Linked DNA regions of Homo sapiens: region 2 is linked to region 1. Evidence: promoter capture Hi-C in 16 types of primary human blood cells and fetal thymus (Javierre and others, 2016). All regions are on one chromosome and are shown on one strand. Each heading gives the region's core, a stretch centred on a gene start or on the middle of the fragment in contact. The rest is flanking DNA. Distances are from core to core; before and after follow the strand shown.

What was found. The method cuts DNA at HindIII sites, captures the fragments that hold promoters and counts their contacts. A CHiCAGO score of 5 or more calls a contact.
Region 2: a contact is called between a fragment that was not itself captured here and the fragment with the promoter of METTL6 in region 1, in 1 of 17 cell types (M0 macrophages). The highest score is 5.2, in M0 macrophages.

The regions. Positions count from the first base shown.
Region 1 is chr3:15,425,022-15,429,181 of GRCh38, forward strand. It overlaps METTL6 (methyltransferase 6, tRNA N3-cytidine), which reads right to left and starts at 2,523. Exons shown (of 6, transcript NM_152396.4): 1 at 2,381-2,523; 2 at 1,266-1,614; 3 at 1-68. The coding sequence starts at 1,490. EAF1 (ELL associated factor 1) reads left to right here and starts at 2,577. Exons shown (of 6, transcript NM_033083.7): 1 at 2,577-2,861. The coding sequence starts at 2,759. RefSeq lists a silencer at 2,494-2,657 and an enhancer at 2,654-2,933. The HindIII fragment of the contact is 9,714 bases long and covers 1-4,160 here.
Region 2 is chr3:15,516,360-15,520,659 of GRCh38, forward strand. All of the region lies in intron 1 of COLQ (collagen like tail subunit of asymmetric acetylcholinesterase), which reads right to left. Among named protein-coding and RNA genes, the nearest start is that of COLQ, 3.2 kb to the right of the region's middle. The HindIII fragment of the contact is 660 bases long and covers 2,688-3,347 here.

The DNA.
Region 1 (4,160 bases), core at 1,273-3,772:
AAAAGTGGGAATAAACAGTTTCCAACCCCACAGCCAGCTTCAAGCATTGTTAACTTTTGATCTTCAAACTGGGGAAAGACAGCTCAAAGTTATAGTATATCACATTTGCATAATGAAGAAATAAACCAAACTAAAAGGTCCAGAATATGAGAGGTCTCCGACCCCATGGAGCAGACGATCAACAAGAGAACTAATAAGCAAAAGCTAATACTGGTACTTCATTTGTCATCCAACATTAACAATTTGGTGTGGAGGAAAAAAACAGCACAATGGCTAACTCGGCTCTGGAGTTAAACTGCCAGCACCCAAATCTCAACTCCTCCCCTGCATTCTATCCTTGGGTAAATCACTTAAACAGCTCTGTGCCTCAATTTTACCTTGGGGACAAATGAGTACAATACTAATACTTACACTTCACAGAGCCGGTATAAGGGTCAAATGATAGGCCATGTAGAAAACAGCCATGGTAAATAGTTACTAACATTAACTATTATATTATTCTGAATCTGTCACTGAAGTCACTTAGCATGAATTTATATTTTTGTTTTTAAAATTTTTAATGTTTAAAATTTTAAAATTCAGAACATAGGGTCTCACTATGCTGCCTAGGCTTGGCTAATTCATGTTGACTATTCACAGGCACAAGCCGCCTGCCTCAGCCTCTGGAGTAGCTGGCAATAGCCACCAGACCTGGCTCTTGAATTTAATATATAATGTTTACAACTATCAGATCAGCTTAAAGAAATAGAAAACACCCACTAAAGTTCTCTCTCCTATATGTTAACCAAACCAGAAACTGCTAAAACTTTGGTGTTAAGACCAAACAGTATATTTCTCTCCTAAAACGCAAAGCATTTTGATAGGCTTCTTAAATTCTCTACTTCGCACTCTCCCTAGGAATGCAATACAGCACACCTCTTCACATTTTTTTTTCTTTTGAGACAGAGTCTCGTTCTGTCACCAGGCTGGAGTGCAGTGGCACAATCTCGGCTCACTGCTATCTCCGCCTCCCGGGTTCAAGCGATTCTCCTGCCTCAGCCTTCCAAGTAGCTGGGACTACAGGCGAGCACCACCACACCCAGCTAATTTTTGTATTTTTAGTAAAGACGGGGTTTCATCATGTTGGCCAGGATGGTCTCGATCTCTTGACTTCGTGATCCGCCTGCCTTGGCCTCCCCAAGTACTGGGATTACAGGCATGAGCCATGGCACCCTCTTCACATTTTAAATGAAGAACAGCTCAGATAAGGCGTAATATTAGCTTACCTCTCTACATGATCTTAGCTCCTCAAACTCTCTGGTGGTCCAGTGTCTGTCTTTGAAGAAATTAGTGCTATTTCTTTTGTAAAAAAGATCCCAATTTTTCTGAGCCTCTTGTTCCAATTTCTGCTGTTTAAAATCAGACACCAAAGTTTGGTCTCTTTTCAGTTTCTCCTCTTCTTCAGAGGTGAGAATCCTTGCCTGCAGCCCTTTCCTTTGCAAAGAAGCCATCTCTGAAACTGACGGTAACACTTAACACAGCTGAAGATTCTCCATCACCAAATAATATGAATCCACGCTAATGGATCAGATACATTTCCTGAGGTGAGTTTCACGCCTCAAACAGCACAGGGGGCTTCGCAGAGAAAAGAATTAGATTCTGGTTAGTGGTTACAGTTCAAGACGCCAGGTTCAATTCACCAAATGTTTATGAGATGCAGACTGTACAAAAAAAAATCCTTCCCGCTATATGAGAGGTCACAAAGAAGACAAACACACAGTCCCTACCTTCAGTGGGCTTACATTCATTTCAGTGGCCAGACTATCTCATGCACCATACTTTTATTCAAACCAGATGAGTCAACTATTACAATAAATCGATTTAGTTTACGAAAAAGGACGCTCTCAAGAACTGACTGGGAAACCTTGCGAAGAAAATATTCCTCAATTTTCGGTGCCCGCGAAAGGGGTGACTTAAAAACCACAATGGCCTTAGCTGGAAGCGGGTGGTCAATTGTCAGATACAAGTGAGGTCATCGTTTCCCAAGGGTCGGACCTCCGTTTTTTCGGGGGAAATGAAGCTAAGCCTGGGTGGGCTCATTTCCTGATCACACTCACAAGAGGCTGTCATAGGAACCAGAGGGAGCGTCACTTTGCAGGGACTGAGACCCTCGCACCGCCATCACCGGGCAAAGTGGAGAAAGAGACCCAATGACGCGTGGCTGAGGTCCCGAGGATCCATCTCAGGACCCTCAGGATAGACTAGGCTGCATGGGCCCCTAGACCCTGAGGAGGGCGTCCATGATGGCTAGCCGACCCGCGTTAATTTAGTCAGCCACGCTCAGGGCTCACCGTCATCAGTTCCTAAATTCACCTGCAGGGCTAGGGCCAGGCGCACTCACCCCACAGCCAGCCCCACTGGGCCTCGGAGGCAGAATACGGGAAGAACCGCGAAACAACCCTAAACCAATTCTGAGGACCACGAATTCGGATTATCCGGGAGTTCTTTTGCCATGGCACCGCCCCCGCCACTTCCGCTAGGAACCCGGAAGTTCCTACCCGACGCCGGAAGTCCCACGGCCTTGCCTCCTCAGATTCCTCTCTCACCCCCACGCAGAGGAGAGAACTTGCTTCTGGACCCGGGTGGGTGCCGGCTCGGCTCTCCTTGTCTTCCAGAGCGGTGGCCCGGAAGCACAGTCCTCCCAGACGCCAGCGCCAGAAGCTCGGATCGCGGCTGCACCGGGAGAGCGCCGATCTGGGTGCGAGGCAGGTGCGGGGCCATGAATGGGACCGCAAACCCGCTGCTGGACCGCGAGGAACATTGCCTGAGGCTCGGGGAGAGCTTCGAGAAGCGGCCGCGGGCCTCCTTCCACACTATTCGTTGTAAGTCAGCGCTCCCCACGGTTCCCTTCGGCCGCTCCAGCCGCCACATATCAACCTTGACTCCTTCCTTTCTTCCCTCGGCCCTTCAGATTCCAGGGAACCCCCTGCCAGCGTCAGTTACTTTCTCTCGAACCCCAAATCCTTTGGGACATCGATTTGTCCCTTCTTTTACCCAGATTATTTCTCCCAAATCTTCGTCACTCCCTACTATTCTTCTACCTCACAGTCTCAAACACTAGTTCCAAAGGTCTTTGGCCTCTTTCCATTTCCATCCCTCCCCGCCCCCAACCTCGCCCCTAAGGCAAACCTCCCTCCCCCAAGGCAAACCTCCCCCCTCTTATCCGGGTCCACTTCTCCCTCGAAACCCCTCCCCTCCTTTCCGATGCTCCCATCAGGGTTCTCCACATTTAAAAGACGCTTCTTGTTTGTTATGAGCCTCATCCACTGCCTTAGAACCCATTCTCTTCCCTGCTTTTCTCCTCCGACTTGGTCCTGGACTCCCAAATACTGTGCTTTGTCCCCTCTACAGCCAAAGAATTGGCATCCTCTCTGCGCCTCATCAGAGTCTTCTTCCATCTCCTTTCTGTGCTTCATTTGACTTGGATGTCTTTTGAGGTCACCTATACCACCCGGGCTTTTCCTCCAGACCAAGTTCCTTGTGGGTAAAGAGTCAAATCAGAGTTCGTGAGCCTGGGATAGGTTAAAGATTGGTCTACGTTTGGAAGCAGAAGAGAGCAGGCGTAAGGAATGTCCAAATAGTCATTATGCCGGACCTTTTTCTACATAATTATAGACGCTGTTGAGAGAGTGCACTTCCACCCTATGTCCTGGGTGAAGGTTTGGCAGTTAGGAATTGGCTGACAGAGCATCCCTCCGTGATTCATGAACTTCTGGTTTCCGTGGTGCTAACGCTGTTGTTAAGACTTGTTTTTGTCAGAGGACCTAATAGATGTGACTCAACACATGTGAAGAGGGCGTTTTAGATAATGAAATCCCATCTTTGTGTAGTCACTTGCCATGCCATTGCTATGCTTCCTACTGACAGCAGATCCAGCTCTTTCAGAGAGAAGAGATGGGAATAAGATAAGAACATCATTTCCTGAAGAGTTTACTAAGTTGATGTTTTCTTTTGGTGAAGGGCAATGTGGAATTTAAATCATATAGTTCATGTGTGCACCTGTCCTGCAGTTTGAGGCAGGTGTGAATGTGAATTAAGATGGCTATTATGTTGTATTCTAACTGCAGTTTAGAAACACGAGCAGGATAACTTGCGGAGATACAGTTCAGTTGTCTGCTATG
Region 2 (4,300 bases), core at 1,768-4,267, 92 kb after region 1:
ACAAAATGCCTGCCCTGGGTTACATCCCAGCAGGCAACAGGAGAAGATTCCAGTACCCAGACAGAAATCACATCCTTCCATCTGATCTCACTCTACAGGACTGGATTTGGGTGTTCTCACCATCTGGTTTCTGAGACCCGGACCCAAACATCACCTGAAGAGTCCTGCCTTCCTGGAAAATCCTGTATTCAATGAGGGAAACCACATGTGTCTGCAGGGTCATCGATGGGGATGGGTCGGCTCACAATGCCTAAAGGGAAGGCTTGTGAAGTGGATTCCCCTGGCTCCCCACCCCCAAACACCCTGGTTGACACCATTTCACTAGAGTATTGTTTAGCTTAGATCCTTAACCTCCATTAAAATGCAAGAACCATCAAAGCAGAGATAAATCAGTACCCTGGCAAGTCATGCACACTTTAATATAAAGCAATATTCAATCTTTTGCTAGAGCTTTGGGCATTGATATACTGAGGAAAAAGCAGGAGGGAATGGAAAATAAAGAATCCAGGCCAGGCGTGGTGGCTGTAATCCCAGCACTTTGGGAGGTCAAGGCCAGCGGATCACTTGAGGTCAGGAGTTCGAGACCAGCCTGGCCAACATGGCAAAACCCCATCTCTACTAAAAATACAAAAATTTGTCAGGCTTGGTGGCACGTGCCTGTACTCCTAGCTACTCAAGAGGCAGAGGTATGACAATCGCTTGAACCTGGAAGGCGGAGGGTTGCAGTGAGCCGAGATCGCACCACTGCACTCCAGCCTGGGCAACAGAGCGAGACCCTGTCTCGAAAAAACAAACAAAAAAGAATCCAGAGGAGAGTTTCCAGAGGATAGGAGGGTAGCCTACAGGACTTTAAAGGCCAATATCACTATTTATCCAAAACCATAAGGAGATTTGGTATATACTGGTGAAAGCCCTGGACTTAAAGAAGCAGGATTTCAGTCTCCAGCTCTCCCACATAACAGCTGCATGACCTTGGGCAAGTCACTTAACCTTTCTGAGCTGCCATTTCCTCATCTGAAAGGGGAAGTGGTGCTGCCCCCATTCAGGAGTGCTGCGAGAATTACACAAATTAAACTGTGTGGAAGGCCTGCCCTCCGGTAAATATCATTGTCTTTGTGTCTGTGCCTCCACATTCTGGAAATTGTACTACTACTGAGCTACCACTGTGGGTGGATACTGGAGCCAAGTCAATCCACAGACCCATAAGTGAGTCCAGCCAGGGCCAGCCAAACCCAAGCTAGATTAGCTGACCCTCAGTTTACCCACAAACACATGAACTTCAACAATAAATGGTTGTTGTTTTGATCTACCAAGTGTCACGGTGGTTTATTACCCACCAATGGTTAACGCAATACACCAAACGTGGGAATCTTGGCATTTTTAATAATTGCCATGTTCAATAGAAATCATTCTAATATATAAATGGCATTTATCTACCTTCTTAAGCAAGATAAAGTAGGCACAATCCAGTCATCACTGGTCCATTCATGTTCATCATAATGAAAACCAGTTAATGTACTGTAGTCAATGACGCCTTCAGGGGTTACAGACAGAGCAGAGGCTCTAGAGGTAGCTCTAGTCTACTATGTTTTGTTTGTTTTTTTAAACGAAGTTTCACTCTTGTTACCCAGGTTGGAGTGCAATGGCGCGATCTCAGCTCACTGCTACCTCCGCCTCCCAGGTTCAAGCAATTCTCCCGCCTCAGCCTCCTGAGTAGCTGGGATTACAGGCATGCACCACCACATCCAGATAAATTTGTATTTTTAGTAGAGACAGGGTTTTCTCCATGTTGGTCAGGCTGGTCTCGAACTCCTGACCTCAGGTGATCCACCCACCTCAGCCTCCCAAAGTGCTGGGATTACAGGCGTGAGCCACCGCGCCTGGCCTACTATTCTTTTTGAAATCTCAGGCCCATTTCCTAATTCTTTATTGTTTTTCTTGTAATCATTCTTATCATCCGTCATTGTGTCTAGCTTAAGCAGCAACTCCTCCCTCCCCAATTTAATATGCTATATATAATCACCAGCTTTCAAGTCACGGACTATCTATGTCTATTAGAGTGGTGCCCAAAGTAAGAGTTAATAGGCTTAGAATAAAGGCCTGAAATAGTTTTGTGTGTATCAAATATTATGTGCTTTAGCGATGGCATTTCTATCATCAGTTCTGGCCTCTGATGTTTTTTGCTCCTTCCTGGTTCTCCTCTGGGACCCAGCAGAGGAGGTTGCCAGGTAATGAACCTCTGATCCAGATAGCTGGTGCTGCACATGGCACTGCTGGAATAGTCTTTCTTGAAGACAGTGAAGGAGTGGATTATCTATGAAGGTAAGTACTGGCTTACAGGCCCATGAGAGCTCTTCCTCCATCACAACCCCTTTCCGGGGCATTTACCACACGCCACCTGTGTTTCAAAAGCAGGTGATCATGGAATCCCTCAGAGCAGAGGCCACATCCTACTTGTCTCCGTGTCCCTTGAAGCACACATTAGAGTGCCAGGCACACAGTAGGCACTCACTAAGTTATAATGCATAGAATGAAAAGATTTTCCTGGTTGCCCTTATTTTCTGTGTATACACAGCCTATCTTCAGAAGAATTAAGAGTCTATAAGCTTCTGAATATAGAATATTTTATATCAAACTGTTGGAAAATATTTCCAAAGGATTACAAGGAACAGCTTCCATTTTTTTAAAGCTTAAGTTTATTTCTGAACTGTGCTATCATAAAGCCATGGTGACTAAATTAGGGGGGCAAAGCCAAGTGACCACCGGAGAAAACATATCTTTGTGATACTGAGCTGGTTACCTTAGTGATTCCCGCTAGGTCTATTCCATTGTTTTCCCTAATGTCTAATGACCACATTCCCAGCCAGAAGTGCCTGTGGATGTGCGCACTGGTTGTTCTCCATCCCAACCCTCCCCTTGGCTCTCTGCCCTCAGTGTTCCAGTCCCTGACCTCCAGGCTCTGCCCTCTGGCTTCAAGTTGGGTTGGCCAATGAGAGGCGCTGCCAAAAGGTGCTTGGATGGGAGGAGAGAGAAGATGGTGTACTTCTCCTTCACTTTCTCCCTGCTTTAGGGCCTTCCATGACCAATGCTCTTGCTTAATGGCCCCTTCTCTAAGGCTCCAAATCTGCCTGGGATCCATTTTCCTATTTGCCCCTCTTGCCTTTTCAAGCACAGGGTGGTAAAGGCATATTGCAGTTGCTAATCTCTAGGTGCCTCAGCATTCCTTGTTGGTTCCCTTAACCCCGCCCACACCTCTCAAAGTGATCCCTTCATTCAGATCTTTTCATCTGAACCACCTGAGTTGCTTCTTTATCCTGCTGTTGCCCTGATTGGTACAGTCTGCAAAAAGCTTACCTAAGAGATATCTATGTTGTGCCAGGGTGCTCTCCAAGGCAAAGAGTTCAAAAGAAAACCAGAGGTTCTTTTCTCTCTAGTTTTCTGAACTCCTTAACCACTTTGGTGCTATTTAAATTAAGTAATACAAAATGATGGTAAACCCCAGTTTGCAGATGAGAAGCTTTTATTCATTCATTCATCAAATATTTATTGATTACTATGTGCCAGGCACTGTTCTGACCCTGGGAAAACAGTAAAGTACAAGAGAGACACATGCCCTGGCCACATGGTGCTTATAGTGTAAGGCCACTGTCTCTCAGAAGTCAGGGAGCTCATCAGAGGCAGGGCTAGAACCAGAAAACTGAGTTTCCTTAAGTCCTAACCTTCAGCAGATTCTCAAAGGAATCCATGACCCAAACATGATTAAGAACCACCAAATTAGGCCAAATTAACTCTCAAGCTTCTCCCTTGAACTGGGGAATGAATAATGACTACTCACTCCTAGAAGAAGCTTGATGCTCTTAACTTGAATTTGCAGGGGCATGTGGGCACACACCCACGGTGACACCACCACTCACCTTTCCTGCCCACCCTCCTGAATTCTCCACAAATCTGCCCCCACCTCCTTCTGTTTCTCACACTTTTATAATTAGCCTCACACCAGTCTCTGAGTCACTCCCTCATGGCCCACAAACGTTGGCTACACAACTTGCTGATGAGCTGTTTTTATCAATGGACAGCAGTTGGGAGCTGGATTCAGAGATGTGCCCTCTCTGAGAGCCTGGCATTTCTGGCCCTCCCTGTGTTTCCAGCAAAGGCAGCGATAGTGAAATTTCTGTCTCAGTTGAAGTATTTATGAGACTCATGTTGGAGGCATAACTAAAACTTTGCTGGGGAGAGTCAGGGGTCACTGAGGTGAATTGAGGGGGGCTGTGAGGGTCTGCCTGCCTCCTTCAAGCCCTCC